2 separate regions of the Homo sapiens genome follow, and region 2 is linked to region 1. The links are contacts of gene promoters, found by promoter capture Hi-C in blood cells and fetal thymus (Javierre and others, 2016). All regions are on one chromosome and are shown on one strand. The core of a region is centred on a gene start or on the middle of the fragment in contact, and the rest is flanking DNA. Distances in the headings are between cores, read along the strand shown. Region 1 holds the start of MAPK8 (mitogen-activated protein kinase 8). Region 2 overlaps SGMS1 (sphingomyelin synthase 1).

Region 1 (4,180 bases), core at 578-3,077:
CATGTCCATCAACTATTTCCATGACCATCACCCTAGATCAAGCTTCCACCTCTTACCGTCTAGGCTACTCCTACATCCACCTGGGCTCTTTCCAATAAGGAATCTTTTCAAGAAGCTATTCTGACCATGCCACACCCTTTGCTGAATATGTCAGGGGCTTCCCATTGCACTTAGGATAAAAAGATTTTCAACATGGCCAATATGGATGTCCTACGTTTGGTCCCTTTACCAATCTTCCTGACTTCATCTCATAGCTCCTTCTTCCTTGCTCCTCCAGCAGAGCTGGCCTTTCCTGAATTTCTCCATCTTATCCTGCTTAATCTCATCAGAGGACCTTTGCGTGCAAAGCTACCTCTAAAATATTCTCTGTCTAGTCAAACCTATTCCCAGCTCAAGTGACAGTTCCTCAGGGAAATCTTTTCTGGCCTTATTAACTAGTGTATTAATTGGTTTCATAGTATTATGTATCCTTAACAATTTGTATTATAAAACAGTGATAATTTTGCGTTTACTATTATTACTTTCATAGTACAGTGATTAAATCTGTAAACTCTACTGTATTGCCTGGCACTGAATGGGCATGCAATAAATAATTATTGCAGGAACAAAGGATGGCAGGAAGGAAATTAAGAAGGTTGAGAGGGAGGGAGAGAGGAAATGGGAAGAGAATGAATGAATAATCATCTGTATGTTCCCTTTCAGAATCACCAGAAACAGGCCAGCCCCACATGTAATAGGAAAGTAGTTTACCTGAAATCATTCATTTATTCAACAAATATTTATATATTCATTATTAAAGTAACTTACTTGTTTCTGATTGTGAACATAACTATTCCTCTCGGAAAACATGAGAAAATACCCAAAGTATAAACGAGAACCAAGTCACCCTTTATTCCATAGTCCAATGATGAACCATTGTTAACATAATTTGGTGTATTTCTTTCCAGGTTTTTTCTATGTGTATATATAGTATCTAAGTGGGACCATTCTATATATGACTTGTTTCTTGCTTCTTTCTCTTAATGATACATTGTGAACATGTTCCTATGTTGTTAAGAATTCCTTGAACACATGGCATTTAAATTGCTAAAATGTATTCTACCGAATGGTGTAGGTAGTTCAAACGCCTTTCCACCCGTTGTTGGATATTTAAAGGACTTGTCAATTTATCGCTTCTGTAACATTTACACGCTTTGTGGGGCCTCAGAAGTAAACCAGGTAATGCAAGGAATCTGGGAAGAGGTGGATTTGCAAGGAATCTCGGAGGAGGTGGATTTTGGAAAAACTGGAGGCAGCTTTTCCCGGGCAGCTGAAGAGAACACTTATCTCTCTGTAGGTTTCTGGGACCCGGACAGGTGTCCTCAGAATGGAACATATTGTCGGTCAAGGTAACCAGCTCTTCATCACTCAGGTGTGTGTACCGGAAGGGGGTGCCTGTTCGCTGCGCAGGTTAGGCCTAAGCGCACCTGCCCTTCAACCCTGTGCCGACGAGGCCCGAAGGCTTAAGCTCTGACCTGGCTACCGCCGCCAACCAGATGCGGTCCCCTGGGGCCACGCGCCGCCACGTGCCGCCACAGGGCCCGCCCCTCCCGCTCCAGGCCACGCCCCTCACCCACAGCCCTCGGAGGCTCTCTCCGCGGCTCCGCCTCCAAGCGACCTCCGCAAGTCCTCTCGTAACCCCTGGAGTAGCGCCGTCCCCGGGCGGCGGCCCCGCCCCCGCAATCCGGGCCCCGGGGCTGCCCCGCCCCGCCGGCCGCTCGGGAGGCGCGGGGGCGGGGCCCTGCGCGATGACGTGCGCGGGCGTGCGCGGTGACGGCCCGCGTCTCTGTTACTCAGCCGAGCGGCCGAGGCCGGACGACGCGGCTTGGATTGCGGAGCCGCGAGCAGCGCTGGGTAACGGCCGCGGCGACCACCCCGGACGGCCCCTGTCCCCGCTGGCGGGCTTCCCTGTCGCCGTTCGCTGCGCTGCCGGGTGAGTGCGGCGGACGCCGCAGGGCCGGGACGGCAGGCGGCCCCGTCGTGTTTATGTTATTGTGCCGCTGCCGCCGCCGCCGCCTTCTCCTCAGCCGTAACCCCCTCCTGGGAGTGGGGGCGGGAGCGCGCGGTGGGCGGGGGCGGCGCGGGAACAATAGCGGCGCGGAGGCGGGGGCCAGCCGAGGGGGCGTGGGGCTGCGGGACCTGGGTGCGCTCCGCTGCCCGCCAGCCCGCCTGCCGCCGCGAGCCCCGCCCGCCTGTCCTCTCGCGTCCTCTTCGCGTGGGTCCTGCCTCCGCGGCGGGAGAAGAAAATGGAGCGGGGGGGTGGGTGGCAAGTTCTGAAACACTTCGGCAAGGGTCGGACGGAGGTGTCTTTGCGGCCCGCCGCGCCCTGGCTGCCTCCGGGGCGGCGGGGAGCCGGGGAGAGCGCTTCTGCCGGCAGGTCCCCAAGCCTGCCCCGCGCCCATAGGGACCGTATTTTGCTTCTCGATGCTTTCTTTGTGCTAACGTTCTGGGCGAACGCAGGCAGCAGCGCTGAAAAGGGCCAGAGTGGCCTGCAGCTCTGGGCTGCAGGGCAGAGAGCCCAGGCCCGTGGCTCGGGTGGGAGGTGTCCATCCAGCTTGGCCCGAGCTTCGGTGGTCAGCGCGCATTTCTCTTGAGGGTCATCGGTGGTGACCTTTTGACTTTTTCACCCCACCCTCCCATCTCTTTGTCTCGCATTTGTGTTCCCGATTCAGAGATGGTAGAACCAAGTCCATTTTAAAGTACCCTGATGAACACTTTCCGTTTTTATTTCTGAAAGTTCCCTGCTTGGTCTTTACTGCGAATTTAATAACATGTTGACTACATGGCATTGTCCAGTGATTACTATTTTTACCTCTGAAATCCAGCGATCTTTCCAGTAGAATTCTGGTCCGTCAGTCCATTGTGTTTTGAGATAAGCATCCAGCAAGTACCTCCTTGGCAATTAGAACATCTGTTTTTTCATTCATTCATTCATTCAGCAGCTGTTTAGTACCGTACTCAGATGAAGAGGTTTGGTGTGAAGGTAAAGTATCCTTTCATGGAAGAGGATGCTTTGACTGAAGTATAATAGATGGACCTTTAAATGAGACAGTTACATAAGTGATGTCTGTTAAGGAAGGTATGGTTATATTCTGGGTCATTTTTTAAGCAGTATATCTGGAAGTTCAAGTGTAATAGGAAGTAGAATTAGATTTGGTCTAAATATACAACAGCTTTTATTTATTTCTAAATTTTATTTTTTCCAGTCTTGCAGCCTTACAGTCATTTGTAATGGTTACCTCAGATTCCCCTGCTGTGGTTAACGTTAAACCTAGGAGGTCAGATGCTCTAAGTGAACATGTTTAGTGCTGTGCCTGACAAAAGCAAGCAATCAAAATGGGACTTCCTTGAGGGCAGGCCTGTCTTGCATCTGTTTCTCCACCACCTAGCCTGGAATATAGTAAGTGTTCAATAAAAGTCGGATTGATGAAAAGCTCTTTGTAATTGATAATATTTAAAATCAAGCCTTAAAAAAAACCGTAATGTTCTCCATAAAGTTTTGGAAGCTTCATGCAACTGTCGCATCAGATGGCTAAATGGTCAGTTCATGTACATTATCTGTTATGATGACATGGGCTTTTGAATCACGTGTAGGTCATTCACTGTCCTAAAATAAAATCTTGTCTAAATATTTTTTTAATATGATAAATAAAGTAGGTTGTGGAGTGTGTGTTTCTGTGTATGTGCTAGTTTATGTGTGTCCGTGTGTGTGCATGTACGTAATCCACACACAGGCACTCATAAACTGGTATTTCAGTAGGGGTCTAAAATGATTGCATTTATAATTTTGTGAATATTATTTGAAAGTTTTTTGGTGACTCTTATTGTGGAAAATTGAGGACAAAACCACATAAATGTTTTATTAGAAATATTTCTAATATTTTAGAAATGTTTACTTGAAATGTTTGGTTTTAAGTTCTAACTTGTATTAACACAATTGGTACAAAATATGAGCCTAAAACTCAAAATAATTGATTTATCGAAGTTAAAGCTCTTTTCCACTTACTAAATACAGTTTAGCGTTTGTTTTGTATTTGAAAGAATATGAAATGAGTTAACTAATGAGTTTCTTATTATTTGCTGTAAAGTGGAAATGAAGAAATAAGAAAATAATACTTTTTTAAGATGATGGTTGAAAATC
Region 2 (4,107 bases), core at 680-3,179, 2.3 Mb after region 1:
AAACTGGGTACAGATAGTGCCTGTGCAATAGCCCATCTCACTTATGGTCCATCTAGTCAAATGAATGGTCAACACGCCACCCAGGAGAGGAAAGGGAATCAACACGCACTCTCTCTTACAGGAAATCTCAGGGTCACCCTCTGCTGCCACATCCCAAGGCCACCTCAACAACTGCAGAATGCAACCCTGTACTACTGTGGACACACGCCAAGGGTCTTCACACCACGACACTTGTGACAGAGTGGTTATTATCCCCATTTCACATGAGAAAGCCACTGCCCCAAAAGGATTTAAACCCAAGCCCACTGTTCTTCATCACTCCTCAGCTGGCTTTCAAAATCAGGGCCCCTGGGTCCTTGCCTTCCCAGTTCCTGTTATCTAGAAGACCCTGGGTGTCCTGACATCTTACAAATGGCTCAGAAATTGCATTACTACCTCACCAGTGTGCTTGGACAGCCAGCAGCATCTTTCCTCACTGCCCTCACCTACTCTGCCTCTGTCTCAGATGACCAGGACAGCCTGACTTGGGCTGAAGGCCGTGGGTCCTCTATACAGACTGTTTCTTTCACAATCCTCTTCTGGTCCCATGGCCTTTTCTCCAGCATCCCAAGCATCTCTGCTCTCCAGTCATCCTCCACCTGCCTGTGCACCTTCATCCCTGCCGCTGCCCCCTGCCTTTCCTCCACCCTTCCCTCTCCCCTCCTGGTTTCCTCAGGAGTAAAACATTCCTCTTCTCTGTTGGCCTCAGACACACTGGCACCCCCCATCCCCTTTTCCAACTCCTGCCTAAACTGTCAGCCTGTGTCTGTTAGGGGGAAAGAAGCTGTGGGCAAAGCCTGCCTTCCCACCCTATCTCCCTCCCAGTCCTGATTTCTCCTGCCTCTGCTGCTTTCACCCAGCCCCCTGCCAGTGGGGTGGGTACCACTTCAGCTAGCCCTCCCCACCACTTCCTTAGGAGATAGTTTTCTTGAGGTTTGTTCTCTACCATCCTGCCCCAGGGCTTTTTTCTTCAATCCCTCCATCTCCATCTGTGACTATTGGGAACTCCCTTCCAAATTTAAGCATCTTCCACCTGCCAAGCTTAGCTGAGGATCCTCCACCCCTTAACCTGAGATTTGTTATAACATCCCGTCTTCATGGATTCACATAGAATACCTGCATGAAACTTTTAGAAGACTGAACATCCACATTTTGCTCCCTTAATGGAGACAGCCTGCCAGAAGGAATATCCATTACAACCTGGGAAATGCAAACAGCTTATTGCTATTTCTATAAAGTGGTCTGGACATGAAATTAAATAGGACTGGGGAAGGTAGTGCTGAAATCAGCTTCTTTTGTTAATGAATAATAAGCAGCTGGCGAAAAGGAGGAGTGGAGGGGAGAAAAAAGAAAACAAGGAACTGGAACCACTGAAAACACAAATGAAAGGGGAATTTCACACTTAGCCAAAAATTCAGGGAAAATAAAATAAAACTTTGTTTTTAATAGAGTCTTTCTTTTAAAAGTTGATTTATCTTAAAGATAGAAAGTCGTTAATCTTCTCCAGGTTTTACATTCCTAGCAGACAGCTAACATTTAGCCACTTTGTTGTTTGTTGTTGTTGTTGTTGTTCTGAGACAGAGCCTCGCTCTGTCGCCCAGGCTGGAGTGCAGTGGCGTGATCGCGGCTCACTGCAGCCTCTGCTTCGTGGATTCAAGCAATTCTCCTGCCTCGGGCTCCTGAGTAGCTAGGATTACAGGCGTGCGCCTCCATGCCAGGCTAATTCTTGTATTTTTAGTAGAGATGGGGTTTCACCATGCTGGCCAGGCTGATCTCGAATTCCTGACCTCATAGCCACGTTTTTTAAAAACAAAGAAAGTAAACTCTTAAGTACTCTTGTAACTCCCCAAGTAGTTTTGAAGTGCAGTCCCAGCTCTGATTCTCCCTTTGGGGGCTGACCACTTATAGCACACATCTTCCTAGGCTTGTCTCTGCTGTCAGGATTATGTCACTAAAAATGAAAACCTCATGTGGCTTTCAACCCTAAAACAAAAGAAAATAAAAACCAAAAAAATGCCACTTCTGGCTCCATCTACACTGACCTATGGTATGGATTCCCTTCTGTGCACTCTGCTGACACAGGGAAACTGGGCAGGTGACCTCTGTCCAGTCATCCCACCCCTGACCCAGGGAGGCTAGGTGTGCAGCTTTGATACTGTACTCACTACTTGGTGATGACATCATCTGTGGACATGTCTGTCTCCCCACTAATCCCTCAAAGACCCAGACCCCATCGCACTCATCTCTGTATCTCAAAGCTCACCAGGGAAACTGGCCCATAGGGGATTTTCAACACATATTTACTGCCACTGTCAACCCTGAGTTATAAAATGACCAGACTGGAGAGTGTCTCCACACCTGAACAGGCCTCTCTAGCCTCTTCAGTCGGCCCCTGGCAATCCCCCCATCCTCTCTGCCCTGCCACATTCCCTCACCAAGCAAACGAGCTGTTACAGGCTGACAGGGTCACAGGAGAGTCCTGATAACTAGCACAGAGAAAAATCTAAACCAGTGTTCCTTCCCAAATACAACTTACTTGTATTGTTCACCTCCGAGTTCTTTCTAAATCCTGAGTTCCTACAAAATATTTAAATTATAAAAGGTTTTCGTCCCGAGGTTTTATATATGTAACATTCTTTCAAATAGGAAAAAGTGTAGCCTGGATTGCAAGACAGAAAACTTCTGCTATAATAATAACTATTCATACTTCTTGAGAGCTTAATGTGTGTAGGTGCTGTACTAAGCTTGGTACACATTGTAGCTATGTGACCTCGTGGCAGCTGGAGGAAAGCTGTACAAAGCTCTTTTTTCCTACAAACACAGTTTTCTGCTATAATTAAACTAGGCAAATAAGATTATCTTCTGCCTCTCCACTGTCAGGTTATGTATCTCAATATACTTTTAATTTGTCTGTGCCTAAATTCCTCCATGGGGATAAGTGGTGAACAGGAAGTCTTTCTTTTTTTTTTTTTGCCAATGGAAGGGGGAATGAAAAATAACAAAAATAAATGAGGCCATCTTCCTAAGATGGGATGTAATGATGGCACTCCAAGCTTCTAATGAGTGCTGACTTATATTTCCAAGTTTTCTCTCCACCTTGGGATCATCTCTCCTGAGCCATGCCAGAACCACTGGTGAGCAGGAAAAGCAAGTTTCTGCTCTGGACTGGCTCAGACACCCCTCTGCTGTCCTAGATAAACAGGACCACATGAGTTCAGTTTTTATTTCATGAGGCGGAAGGCACTTCCAATGTCTAAATCTGAAATCATCCCACCTGACTGTAACTAGAAGTAGTAGCAGCTGGCTCCTCGCTGACATGGGCACTGCTGATGGCAGTGGTTGGCAAAGAGTGGTCCCCAGACCAGCAGCATGACAGTATCCAGGAACACATTAGACATGTCAACTGCCCACTGCCACCTGCCCCAAGCTCTTTGCCTCAGAAACTCTGGCAGAGGTGGGTCCCAGCCCTGGGCGTTGTAAGCAGCCTTCGAGTGATTCTGATACACGCTGAAATCTGAGAGCCACTGGCTTCACCTGATAAACATCTGAGGTCATGGGAATGCCCTGCTGGGCTAACCTGTGTATTACAACGCTTTATGTAAAGGTACTGGCTCTCCACCAACAGTACCTACTTCTGTTATTTCTGCCACCTGGCAAAGGCCCCAAACACTAAACTCCAGGGCATTCTTTTTCCTACTTTCTTGGGCAAATTACTTCTGTCCCACTCTCTTTGTCCTCAAAAAAGGTATGATGACAATATCCATTTCATTGGGTCAAGGACTTAGAAAGTGGCTGGCATGCAGTTAGCCATCAACAAGTGTGAATCCCTGTGATTCCGACATCTCTGCCAAAAGGTCTAATCAGAACTAGGAATATAGCAAAATAAAATTCGCTTCCTGAATGCTTACCACCTGACTTTTTCTCCCCACTCAATTCCAGAGCCCTGAGTGAGGACATCCAGGAATGACAGAGAATGCACCTGGCTCCACTGTCTTTCAGTATTTACTTGTTCAGTCTGCAACCTGAGCGCCCACTGAATGCCTGCCGACATGTGGAAAAAGCCATTCT

What was found. Contacts are between HindIII fragments. The CHiCAGO score rates a contact against its expected background, and 5 or more counts as called.
Region 2: a contact is called between a fragment that was not itself captured here and the fragment with the promoter of MAPK8 in region 1, in 1 of 17 cell types (total CD8 T cells). The highest score is 5.5, in total CD8 T cells.

Annotation. Positions count from the first base shown.
Region 1 is chr10:48,304,850-48,309,029 of GRCh38, forward strand. MAPK8 (mitogen-activated protein kinase 8) reads left to right here and starts at 1,828. Exons shown (of 12, transcript NM_001323329.2): 1 at 1,828-1,972. RefSeq lists a silencer at 1,459-2,408. The HindIII fragment of the contact is 3,503 bases long and covers 41-3,543 here.
Region 2 is chr10:50,611,114-50,615,220 of GRCh38, forward strand. The region is part of intron 1 of SGMS1 (sphingomyelin synthase 1); the gene reads right to left. Among named protein-coding and RNA genes, the nearest start is that of SGMS1, 11 kb to the right of the region's middle. RefSeq lists a silencer at 3,564-3,693. The HindIII fragment of the contact is 1,703 bases long and covers 1,079-2,781 here.